4 separate regions of the Homo sapiens genome follow, and all the other regions are linked to region 4. Evidence: promoter capture Hi-C in 16 types of primary human blood cells and fetal thymus (Javierre and others, 2016). All regions are on one chromosome and are shown on one strand. The core of a region is centred on a gene start or on the middle of the fragment in contact, and the rest is flanking DNA. Distances in the headings are between cores, read along the strand shown.

Region 1 (3,099 bases), core at 514-3,013, 3.5 Mb before region 4:
TGTTCCTTCTTTCTAGTGAGGTTGTAAACTCCATTTTGAATTTTCCCTGTTATTTAATGTGGTGCAGTAAACACAGTAAAGGCTCAATAAATGTTGATGTAATGGCTGGATAAGATAGAAAAGAAAAACAGTTTTTTTTTCGCCAATGCCATCATCTGCCTATTGAAGTTTTTCTTGTCAGACCTTCAGCAAATGATTAAATTAATTTGAATCAGATTGAATTAGGCTAGAAATAGCCCAATATCTGAAACAATTTCACCAGGAATAATCAGTATAAGAGTCATTAGAAAGCAGCAGTTGTTAATAATGCCCCCATTTTTTTTTTCTTTTACGATAATGACAGGGACTCACGATGTTGCCCAGGCTGAGCTCAAAATCCTGGCCATATGTGATCCTCCCACCTTGGCCTCCCAAAGTGCTGTGATTATATGTGTGAGCCACCACACTTGGCCTGACCACACTTTTTTTTTTTTTTAAAAACAGCAAAGCCCTTTTCTTTCTGAGCAGTGATTTTGAAAATTACTAAAATTCTTATGTAAAAAATTTCTAAAACAAAAATTTCCATAAGAATATCATCAAAATATTATTCTTTGCACTGTATACCATTCCTCTATCAACTAGGTATCCAGTCATATATTTTGGATTTGAATTTATCTTATGGGAGCTGGATGGTACATATATTGGCAACACAATCTTCCAGATCTAGTTAACTTCTTAAATGCCGTTGGCTTCACAGTGCTTCAGTCAGGAAAAAAATGAATAATGTCATCCCCTGGGAATGTAAGGAAAGAGTCCTATTGAGGATATTGGTGGAGCTGTTCGGCTTCTTCAGAGGAAAGACTCTATACTCATTGTGGTGGCTGCTTTTCTCCAAGCTTGTGATTTGAGAGGTTGACCTAGCAACAATCTGAATAGCAAAGCATGTTTTTTCTTGGTGCCCATTTTCCTGCAAAAGCATATTTTTGATTGGACTGCAGTCGAAAGCATAATTAAATGTTACAGAGACTCTCAGAACTTTAAACCATTCTCTTTTTCCCTTTTAATTTGACAACACAAACAAGTCTAATGTTTCATTTTTCTGGCTCCAGATGTCCATTGTGAATGTAAATGATGAGCCAGTAGAGCTGATGCTTCCACAGAACTGATATTCAGAGTAAAAATGAATCGTTGCACATCCTGCAGGTGCCTCTGCTGAGGGAATCTTTTCACTCCGAAGACATTTAAGAGATAGAATATGCAGCTGGTCAAAGAAAGCCTTTAGGCTATTTCAAAGTTTCTATACAAAATAAAATGCCTCATAAAGTTTGCTTGAAAGTGAAATTTTATAAAATACGGTTATATACACTCCTTCATTTTTATTCCAATAATTCCAAGCTTTCTTTTTAAGGCTGAAAATACTATTTTTAAGAATCAAATAAACACCAATATTTGGAGTTCTGATAGAGAGAAGAACTTCACATTTGGCTTGCATTTGGCACTTAATTTGGAGGTTGTATTCAAGTTAACAACAACAACAGCAAAAATACAATGATTCTTCTATATTGTCAATAATTACTGCTCGCAGCTTGATTATTTTGCAATTATCAAGATATCGGATGCCACACATATGTGTCAAAGCCTTTCAAAGGACATCTAATGAGAACCATAGATGAAGATGGTATTGATGTCTGACTGGGGAGAGAGCTGTTCATGTACTTAGCCTTTGAACTACAACTCACCATCTAATTTTCTCAATCAAGGTCTGAGACTTGAAAGAATCTATGGAAGAATCTAGATCATCTACTGAAGTACTTATGACTTCAGAATTTAGAGTCAGAAAACATATCCTGAGCATGTTCCCTCTCCTGCTTCTCAGAAGCCCTGAACCATTAGACTGCATGAGTCTGCCCACTTTCTCCTGTGATGATTCAACTGGGTTCCTCTTCCCTCAAAGATCCCTGCATTCTAAAACAATTTTTCTGCCTTCCTAACACTCTGCTAAAAAAACCGATTCTTTTAGCACAGCTGACCACAGCAAGAAGAAAGCAAGCAGATGGAGTTAATTCATACTAAGATGAAAAAGTCTGCTAGCCTCCACAGGGTATTTGCCTCATAAAAAAGATTGCTTGAGAAGTTAAGTTTATCTCTAACTTGCAGAACCTAAGAAATGAAGTAAAGCTTCTCAACTGTGGGGAAGAAATGTGATCTCCTGTATTTTTTGGTCAGTATTTGGGTTATAAGACATGAGAAAAGAGATACACAAAGTCATCTCATGCTGACCAAAACAAAAACAAAACAAAACAAAAAACAATGTAGATTGAACTATGATTGAATGATTAATGCATCAAAGGAAAAAAGTATCAATCAGACATTGGTCATTCACTCTTGGCCATATTGAAAAGGGTATAGAGGCACACTTTGGAAAAGTCTATCTTAACATAGTTCAGAGAAGAGAGTCTTAGATTACAGTAAACTGGCAAGAAGATGCTATATGAAGACATCTATTTTACATTACATGTTTCATTCACTTAATTAATGTTCGGTTCTGTTTCTAAGTTTTTTAAGCAAACTTCTGGTTATTATTTCATTCTCAGTTAGTTCTGTCTACAGAGAAGTATGCTTGTCACATGGGCTTGAAGAATTTGAGACCCATACTAGCTATCTTTTAACTAGCTTTTTTTTTTTTTTCTTTTAACAGTCAGGGTAGGATCAGAGAAGCAGAACCACTAAGATTTTTTTATACAGATTGTACCTTATGCAATCATGGGAGATGGTTAATCAGCCTCTGCAAGGCTGTTGCCTTTGCATCTTTTCTGGAGCTTAAAGTCTGCAGGACTTTCAAGAAAAGAAGACAGATTTGGAGTGGGGAGAGAAAGGAAAACTGTAACCCATTGGCTCAAGCTGCAGTCCAAGAGGATGGATTGAAACCCTGGTCTCACTCTGCCTCCAACTTCAATGGTGCTGGTGGCCTGCAGGAGAAATTGATGCCCTTTGTCATAGAGCTTAACACACACATGGGCCAAGAAGACAGAGAACCTGAAGGACAACTGAGGGTAGGTTGGAGCAGCTGCAGGGCTAGGTGTTGCCCCATGTTAATCCAGTGTCAGCTGAGGTGTCAAT
Region 2 (3,038 bases), core at 263-2,762, 3.7 Mb before region 4:
CTCTTTTTTAGCTATGGAAATTTAAATAGGTTCTGTAATCTACAGGGTTATATTAATTGTGTTTAACAATTTCTAGATTAAATGATATTTTTCATCTTCGTCACTAGGACGGAAGGTAGGGTGGAGAGTAGAGTAGTAGGAAAAAAGAATAAAGTCACAGAAAAGTTGAATGAAAATTATACTATCAAATAATAAACATTATCGAAATGATACATTATACAGTTTTGCAAAATTTTAACTTAACTAGCTTTTAATTTTTTAATGCTTTAATTTTGTTAAAATAGTAAGTAGTTCAGAGAGCCTTGAATCAGAACTCCAATTTTATTCATTTACTCCAGGATTTAGGCCCCAGGCACTTAGCCAAGGAGAAAAATAAGTCAAGGCTCCCATATAAATGAGTTAGGGAAATGGGTAAGCAGGCAGGGTGACACACAGTGTGATATATTAGTTTAGCTTCATTAACTGTTTCTCAAAATTCAGTTATTCTTGTGTACCATCTGTCTAGTTTTACTTAATTTTTTTTTGGTCAGTTTTAATATTTTTCTTTTGTTTCTTAGGAATTTTTCTTTTGTTTCTTAGGAATTTATTTTTCTTTTGTTTCTTAGGAATTTAAGCTTATTTTATATCATTATCAGTAAATAGATGTGCCTAGCCTATAGTTGACAGACGGTGTATTTTTAGAGAATGAATGAATGTTGACAAGAAGATAATATACGATGGCTCACACCTGTAATTCCAGCACTTTGGGAGGCCAAGGCAGGAGATTTGCTTGAGGGCGGGAAGATTGCTTGAGGACAAGAGTTCAAGACCAGCATGGGCAATATAGCAAGACCTCATCTCTAGAAAAAATAAGCAATTAGCTGGGTGTGGTGGTGCGTGCCTGTAGGCGCAACTACTTGGGAGACTGAGGTAGGAGGATCGCTTGAGTCCAGGAGGTCGAGGCTTCACTGAGCCATGATCGCACAGCTGTACGCCAGCCTGGGTGACAGAGTGAGACCTTGTCTCTAAAAAAAAGAAGACAAAACAGACTTAGCATGTTGGAGGGAGGAGCAACAATGAGTGAGAAATAGAAAGACTTTTCAAGGGGGTATGTAGGCTCAGGCAAGTGACCGCAGTCAGTTTTCACATCCTCAACTTTCATGTATTCTCTTTCAGAAAATTACTCTGCCCCTCTGTACATAAGGGGGCACATATTCTCCTTTCCCAACCTGCCTTTCTCCAATTTCCCTTCACCCTTTTCACAAAAAGAAAGGCACACTTGCACCATTCTGGCTTCTATGCTATGTTCCTCCAGGTATTCAAAACCTCCATATGCCAGAAACTATTGGAGTGTCAGTGTGAGAAAGCAAATGACTAACAGATTCTCTGACAAGTCAGGTGGTTTCCAAGTTTTGCTTTCAACAAAAGTAAAGGAGCCTTGATTGAGATGTCAGCTATCAATTCATTTAAGACATTTTTGATGATAGGTTGCTAAGTGATTTGGGGATATAACTCCAAAAGAATTCAAAGTAAGAAACATTGCTATAACAAAATATATTTAATTCTCATCCACTTATTTAACTGAAGGTTTTTCTCAGCTTTTATAAAAAACACAAAATAGGCATAAAAATGATGTTGAATCCTGACTGATTTTATTATAGTAAGAAGTAATATTCATTTATGGATATATGGAAACAAAAGCTCATTTCATTAAGTATCCATTTCTTACCAATTTTTACTTTTATAAGTTGTTTTGATCGGTTTTGTACTAATAATATTATTGATCCCTGAATCCAGAAGTTACCATTTTAACACTTAGAGATTTAAGACCACAGGAAAAACAAATTTAGTACATACACATGTGTATATGTGGGGGCTAGAGAAGCATGATAGGGTGATAAAAAGATTTCAAGCATGAAAATATATTAAGATGAAGTTATATGAAGTAGAATGTAAATAAAAGAGGAAAACGAGCAGCATAAAATTTCCACCTGTTAAAGATGAGTCAGTCTATGAATTTTTAAATGGATGATGATGGGTATCAAAATCATTATGATATTTAGTTTCCACTGGGCACATACTAAAGGCAGTATAATTTGTATTTTAAAATGTCAATTTTTACAGTATGCTGGAAATTGCATCCTTTAAACATATGGTGAGATTTTAATGTCAACTTAAAATGTGTTTTTTTTCAAAATGATATCAGTGGTGCACTAGCAAATTTGCAGGTCACTGACCTTGTATGTCTCCAGTTCTGCTGGCTACTGAGGTACTTGCACTTCTTCTCACCTGGAAGACCAGTAAATGGAGCCGCTTCAGACTAACTGTGAATCTTGGGAAAAGGCCTGGAGTGTGGCACCTGGCCGCTGTTTTCTAGAGTCATCTAACATACATTCCCTCTACTGCCTGCTAAGCTACTTGCCCATCCATAAAAGCTTTGGATTCGGAAGCCACTTTCCCTCCAGCCCCAGGTTAGCAACCCACCCAGTGCAGGCACAGGAGGGGTTGTATGTGTGTGTGTTGTGGGGAGGAGAATGGAGGTCAGTGGCAGGTGTGTGCAAGGGGAACTGTAAGAATCATATTAATACACAGCTTTGCTTTCTCAGGGCTAGGAAGCACCAGCCTGAGCAGCCTTAGCAGTCCCTTCAAGAGTTGGTCTGTTGCAGCTGCTTCTATAGGCAGGATGTGGCAAGCTGATTTCATTGTTAGACAGAAGAGGGTTTCAGGGAGGTCATGGCCACTTGCACTAAGTGAGGGTTGGGGTAAAATTCTCTTTCTTGCCCCCTTTTGTAGCTCTGTGCTGTAGTACCAGGGTCTCACACGTTGGGAATCACTTCTGTTAGACTTTAAAGTCAGTCTGATTTTGAATCAGATACTTCTGCGTACTAGCAATGTGACCTCAGGTAAGTTGCCAAAATCTCTAAAAGCCTCAGTTAACCTCTAAAATAGGAGTAAGAGCTGCCTCTCTCAAGGTTGTTGTGATGGTTCTATGATATAAACATGCAAAATGAACATTGTACACATCCAGTCAGTAACATTTATTAATAATGATATCAGAG
Region 3 (3,153 bases), core at 225-2,724, 3.7 Mb before region 4:
TTCATTCATTCAATAAGCCATCACTTAAAAAATATATTCTTAGTAAATGCAAGTACACATTTGGTTATTGTAACAATTTCCAAAGTTAAATAGTCAAGATGTTTTTTGTTAATAATATCAGTATTCTTGTTGTATTCTTTGTTTTCTATTATAAAAGTGCACTTTTTCATAAAGACATGAAGTTTCATGTTTATATTCTTGTAGCTAATGGTAAAAAGAAAACTAAGAAACTAAGAATGAAAAGGAACCACCGGGTAGAACCACTTAATATAGATGACTGTGCTCCTGAGAGTCCAACGCCACCCCCACCCCCTCCTCCTGGTGAGTAAATTGATACTGATACTGAATTTAGAAATATTGCTTTAAACAACAGAGAAAAAAAAAAAGAAAAAAGGAATCTTGTCATTTTTATTCTGTATATTCATTATCTTGTATACTTGTGAAGAAGAATCTTTTACTCTGATTTGGACAAAATTTGCTAACACAAATGTCCATTGCTTTTTTGAATAAAAAAATGTTTTATAAAGAAAAAAATAAGTAAAAACTATTAAGAAAATTTTACCCAGTATTTCCTAGAATATGTTCAAGTTCTATTTGAAATATCAGTACCCACATGTTAATTTAAGTTTCACGATGGATGGCTAACATGAGTTTTTAAAACATTGAACCGGCTCGGCATGGTGGCTGACACCTGTAATCCCAGCACTTTGTGAGGCCGAGGCGGGCAGATAACCAGGTGAAGAGTTCGAGATCAACCTGGCCAACTTGGTGAAACCCCGTCTCTACTAAAGATACAAAAAAAAAAAAAAAAAATTAGCTGGGCGTAGTAGCACATGCCTGTAATCCCAGCTACTCAGGAGGCTGGGGCAGGAGAATCGCTTGAACCTGGGATGGAGAAGTTGCAGTGAGCCAAGATCACTCCATTGCACTCCAGCCTGGGTGACAGGGTGAGACTCCATCTCGGGAAAAAAAAAAAAAAAAAAAAATTGGACCTTTCATCCTGAAAGTTAATGTTTGAAACCAAGATGTATTAATTTTTTCTAATACATTTTCAATATACATACCCATGTCCTAAGTTGTTACGAGGATTAAATGGAGTAATGCATATAAAACACTGGGACTTAACTTGCACAATAATTTTGAGTAACTTTTCAGCACTAAGCTTAGCACCTCACCTACTATAGGTGGTCAGTAAATATGTAATGACTAGATAAATATGTGTATAGTGCCCTTATAGCCCTGCTACAAGGCTTTAGAAATTATTTGGTAACATTTTAAGAATCTCTTATAGACTCATTTCCAGTATTCCATTTATTAAGAAAATATTTAGTTTCTGCCTAGAGTTAGAATGATAGCATGAGTTTGTTTTTGATAGTGGTGAAGGTGCTTATAGTTTTTATTAAAAGCTACTGAAAAGTTAAAGCAGATGTTAGCAGCCTATAATTACATTTTAAAATATAGAAGCCATTTAAAATGGGTTTCTGGCTTTCCATACTGTCATTCAATATATTTGAATTGACATTGAATGTTACATATGCTTCCTTTCCAGGGAGGGATCCTCTCAACAGACCTAAAGAAACCTTGTTTAACAGTGTTTTTTAAATGTTTTTCTTTTTCTTTAGTTGGCTGGGGAACCCCTAAAGTCACTAGACTTCCAAAACTTGAGCCTCTTGGTGAAACACATCATAATGGTAATGCAAAAGGATTGGTTTTCAGATATCATCTGTACATGTCACATTCACTTTTCTTTAGCCTTATAATTTCAACAAACTTATGTTTTAGTTTTAGAAGCTTGTCAAATCCACAGCTATCCTTTTTCATTATACGTCTTTTTTCATTTTATTTAATTTTTTATTCTTAAGTATGCTTTACATCTATATCATTTAATTTGGTGTTTACCTTAGAATACAGAGGTAAAAAGAATCATAGCTTGTGTTTATTATCCATGATATATTTATACAAGGAGTTATAATAAAAAGGAAATGTTTTAAAATAATTTAACTATGAGACATTAGAATTTATAACTTAAGTGTTAAAAGCTGTAGTTTCCTGTATATGCTCAATATACTCAATGATAATGGCACATAATTTTTTCTCTCTACTCCTAATAAGACAACCAGCTGCTGAACATTAAAGTGAAGTAAAGATCAACACAGTTTATAAAATCAGAGATCAAATCAGTAAACCTAATAAAGTTCGACTAAGTAGAAAGTTACTAACATTTTTATTGAATTAAGAGAACAGTTTTCTTTGAATATAACATACGCTATAGTCTAGATAGTTTATGGCATTAGAATTCTAGGATGCAAAAACTAGAGGAAGGATATTTAGGAGAAGTAGAGAACTGCCTTATAAAACAAGGAGAAGTTCTGATTACAGACCATCAGTCTAGGTCCCTTCAGTAAAATATTTCTAGAATGCAAAAGAATTATAGATAAATGTAGTTCAATAAACTTGTTTGTTAAGAACATCCAATTCCTTTTTGGACAGCTCTGTGTTTACCTAGTCTAGAACTTGGTTTCACTTACTAGGAAAAAACTCAGAAGTTTACTCTTTAGAAAAGCATTACCATATAATTTGAAATTATATCAAACCAGTTTAAATATTTTTGTTTAAAAGGTACTTAAATATAAATGTGCTATTTGCTTTTTTCCCCCAGAATTCTATTTAGGTCAGTATTGAAATATTTCTTGATAATCGTTAGTGAAAATTCATGAATTTTTTTTTTTTTAAAGACAGAAAAGTTTGTCCTTAGACTCCATCAGAATTACTGAAGTGGTATTTTCAGTGAAATCTCATCTCTCTGTTTAGTTTACTGACTTGACATCGTGATGTTTATATTGACTACAGTAGATTTATTTCTTTATTACACAACTCTTAGTGAACTTGTGTACGTTAGAATACATTGTCAATATAAATATTCACTATGTTGTTAGAAAACTAATGTTACTGTGTATATTTATATGTACACACATACATATGAAGAAAAAATACCAATTTTTCATATGACATATTTTTTCTGTTGAACTCATTTAACATACAAGTATTTTGTTTGTTAAAACATTGGTAATAACAAGATGAATAAGATGTACATTCTGCCTTTGTGAGGATTCTACTATACAGAGAGGACAATTCTTCAGCTTACTGTAGAAT
Region 4 (3,128 bases), core at 225-2,724:
CCAAACATCTGTATTTCTGTTATCTTTAATACTCAGAACTACCAGATAAGATAAATACTATATTTTTGAAGGTGAGGATAGAAGCACGGAGAAGGGTAAATTGGGCTAAGACCACACAGTAAGAAAGAATGTATTTCCATACTCCATTTTTACAAGGACATTTATATGTTGATATGCATCCATAGGGTCTTTGTTTTGTTTTTGTCTTTCAACAAGAATCACTAATCCAGAGCCGCTTTTGTTTTTTCGCTGTAAAAATGACAATTACATTTGGAAATTTGGAGAAGTGACAAAAGATAAATCACCCCATAATCACACGCTTACAACCGTCCCCCCTACCATATTACTTTGAAATAATTCCTTCTAGTCTCTTTTTGCACCCTCCTAGTCCATTTAATAGGCCAAATGAATTGACAGGCCAAAGAACAGGCAGTGCAGTAAACATACACTAGCTAGTTGAAAAGGGTCGCGCGGTGGGGGGCAGGGGGTCGGAAATCCTACACCCATGCAAACAAAAAAAATGAAGAGATACAAACCCCTATTTGAAGAATGAGGCCATTCGCTGGGGGTGAGGTTAGTGGAGTTGGGCAGATTGAAAGGCTAGATCTTTAAAATGACTGCATCTGTAATGTGTCCGTTGGAAAACGCAGTAATAAAAGATGTGGGGAAGGGTATGCCTAAATATTTTCTATTTGAAGACCATTTGTGACTATGACTATAAAATCCAAGTGCAATTTAAGAAGGTGGTCAACTTTAAGTATTGACTATTAATACCTTTCCTGACCACCTGCCGATTTGATTCTGGAGACTGTAATCTACTCACAGGAGATTATGCCTGGTAGAAATCTCTTCGGGAGACCACACAACTAAGAAGCAGGGGTACAGGCATACTTTATTAGCCGAATAACACCTTTTGACTTTTTACACCAGTTCTCCCCTCTACCTTCCTGTATTAACAGTTTTACCTCTACAGGGACTCAGGGTGGGAGGCCTATCAGAACCCAGAGAAGAGTCGGTGCGATGGGCAACTGGGGAACTCCGGCGCACATCTTGCCCCAGGGGGGACAGTATCGTCTTGCAGTCGTTGCCACAACGCTACGCTGGTGCCCGGTAACGACACTCTCCGCGCCACACCCAGCGCCAGCCTCTTGGATCCCCAGGAAGACCAGGGCCGAGCGACAAACACGCAGCACACGCGAACGCCAAACGCTTCCCAGAAAGCTGTGCGCGAGCCTACAACTCCCATGATGCTACGCCGGGAACTGCCCGGCTCCTCGCAGGAAATAGGCAGCTCACCCTGCCACCTGTGCACACATTTTTCTTCAATGTATAGTTCCTCGGCGCGCCTCTGACCTTTTCCCGGAGCTCTTCAATCCCAGAAGCTATAGCACAACGGCTGAATCGCCAGGACCCCCGGGGAGGCGTGGCTTCAGGACCGGAAGAAGCTCCTGTTGCCAAGGGAACGGTGCCTGCCAAGGCGCCTGCTCAGCGACTGATGCACAGACTGCTGCAGAGGCTGCCGGTTTTCCCAACTTCTAGAGACGGCTTTGCTCATTACCAGGCATCCTTCCCATGTAGGCATCGAGAAGAAGGCTGAGGGACCCTCGCACCAGATTTCCATCCCGGAGACCGATACGAGTGCGTCCATTCCTGTTGCCAGCTCCTGCGCCCTCCGGACTAACCTCAAAAACCAGGTATCTCCTCAACGCCGGTTTTTAAAGCCAGCGCCACCCTCTGTCCCCGTCAGTTTTAGAATTCCTCTTTGGTCTTTCCCATGTTTTTCACTCCACGCGTGTAGTTGTTGCTAATGTATGAGAAGTAGAAAAGAAGGTGAGTTATAGAGGCCCTAGAAAACTTACTAAACTGGTTTGGACGTATGTTTGGTTGATGGGTTTTAACAATGCTCAACTTAGACCCGTGTATTGGGGGTGTGTGTGTGTGTGTGTGTGTGTGTGTGTGTGTGTGTGTAAGTGTAATTTAAATTATATCATAAAAAACTGAAAGCCGAATAAGAATGTTTATTTGGGGTAATAAAAGTAGGCAACATTTCAATCAACAAACACTTTACAGAGTTTACTAAGTATCATTCGTGGTGTTTTCTCTGGGCTACCACTCTGTCTCTGCAGCTTACCCTCTAAGCTGTTAACTGTGGATAACATCCTAATTCTTCTGGACTTCTCTGGCAATATGTAATCCTTTAGGAAACAGTCTGTCAGACAATAACCAAGAGAATTTGGCTGGTGTGCAAAGAGAGGGTTACAGTAAGATAAGAAACAAGAAAGGAAGATTGGAGCCAGATTGTGGACAACCTTAAAAGCTGTGCTTGGAAGTTTGAAACTACTGGCTTTATTCTGAAAGCCAGTAGTTCTCAATAGTAACTTCACATCAGAAACACTGGGTAGCTTTTAAAACTACAGATGCCCTGATCTTATTTTCAAAAATTCGGATTCAGCAATTGATTTCAGAGTGCAGCCAGGGTTGAGAATCATGGCTATCAGAGTAGGAAGCTGCAGAAAACAGTTGTGTCTCTCGCTGCACACTTAAGACACGATTAACAAATATTGACTGGCTTCAATTATCTTTTATTTATGCATGCAGAAAGTCAACTTATGGAAGGAAAATTATAACTACTTGAAACGTAGAAGTTTAAAGGCTCTATGATAGTTGTTTATAAAGCAATTTCAATAAATGTGATTACCTCTTTTAGAAAAACTGCCTGCTCTTCTAAATTGTGTGTCCCAAAATATTTCATTAACAAGTATCAAGTGATAATCCATGGAAAAGTGATGGAAAGTCACAATACAAGGTACTGTGAAAAACGAATATTCAAGCATCAGGCTTTAAACACTCAGTGCTTTATAGTAGATGCTTAAAGGGGGGAAAATGTGAGAAGTTGTCGTTTTTAAAACATAAGTTCTAAATTATGAAATGGAGAACAAGATATAAGCATTTATATCAATATGTTTATGCAGTAAATAAAGTGAGTAATAGCAAATTTACTTTGAAATCAAATGGTATGTGTGAATTGCTTCATGACATCAGAAGGTTAATTTAAAATAGATTTTACAAATGCTGGTCCTTAAGCTGTAATTTAAAGAAATGGACTGAATAAGATTTGAATCTCTGAT

What was found. The method cuts DNA at HindIII sites, captures the fragments that hold promoters and counts their contacts. A CHiCAGO score of 5 or more calls a contact.
Region 1: a contact is called between a fragment that was not itself captured here and the fragment with the promoter of ARL6 in region 4, in 1 of 17 cell types (endothelial precursors). The highest score is 6.0, in endothelial precursors.
Region 2: a fragment that was not itself captured here is called in contact with the fragment with the promoter of ARL6 in region 4 in 2 of 17 cell types (total B cells and naive B cells); the score reaches 9.6 in total B cells.
Region 3: a contact is called between a fragment that was not itself captured here and the fragment with the promoter of ARL6 in region 4, in 1 of 17 cell types (total B cells). The highest score is 7.8, in total B cells.

What each region holds. Positions count from the first base shown.
Region 1 is chr3:94,261,865-94,264,963 of GRCh38, forward strand. No RefSeq gene overlaps it. Among named protein-coding and RNA genes, the nearest start is that of NSUN3, 200 kb to the left of the region's middle. The HindIII fragment of the contact is 783 bases long and covers 1,373-2,155 here.
Region 2 is chr3:94,069,456-94,072,493 of GRCh38, forward strand. All of the region lies in intron 2 of NSUN3 (NOP2/Sun RNA methyltransferase 3), which reads left to right. Among named protein-coding and RNA genes, the nearest start is that of NSUN3, 7.9 kb to the left of the region's middle. The HindIII fragment of the contact is 1,800 bases long and covers 613-2,412 here.
Region 3 is chr3:94,049,202-94,052,354 of GRCh38, forward strand. It overlaps ARL13B (ARF like GTPase 13B), which reads left to right. Exons shown (of 10, transcript NM_001174150.2): 8 at 205-321; 9 at 1,623-1,691. Among named protein-coding and RNA genes, the nearest start is that of DHFR2, 12 kb to the right of the region's middle. The HindIII fragment of the contact is 629 bases long and covers 1,161-1,789 here.
Region 4 is chr3:97,763,284-97,766,411 of GRCh38, forward strand. ARL6 (ARF like GTPase 6) reads left to right here and starts at 1,475. Exons shown (of 8, transcript NM_001278293.3): 1 at 1,475-1,694. RefSeq lists enhancers at 806-1,307, 943-1,482, 1,308-1,807, 1,523-1,632. The HindIII fragment of the contact is 6,880 bases long and covers 1-3,128 here.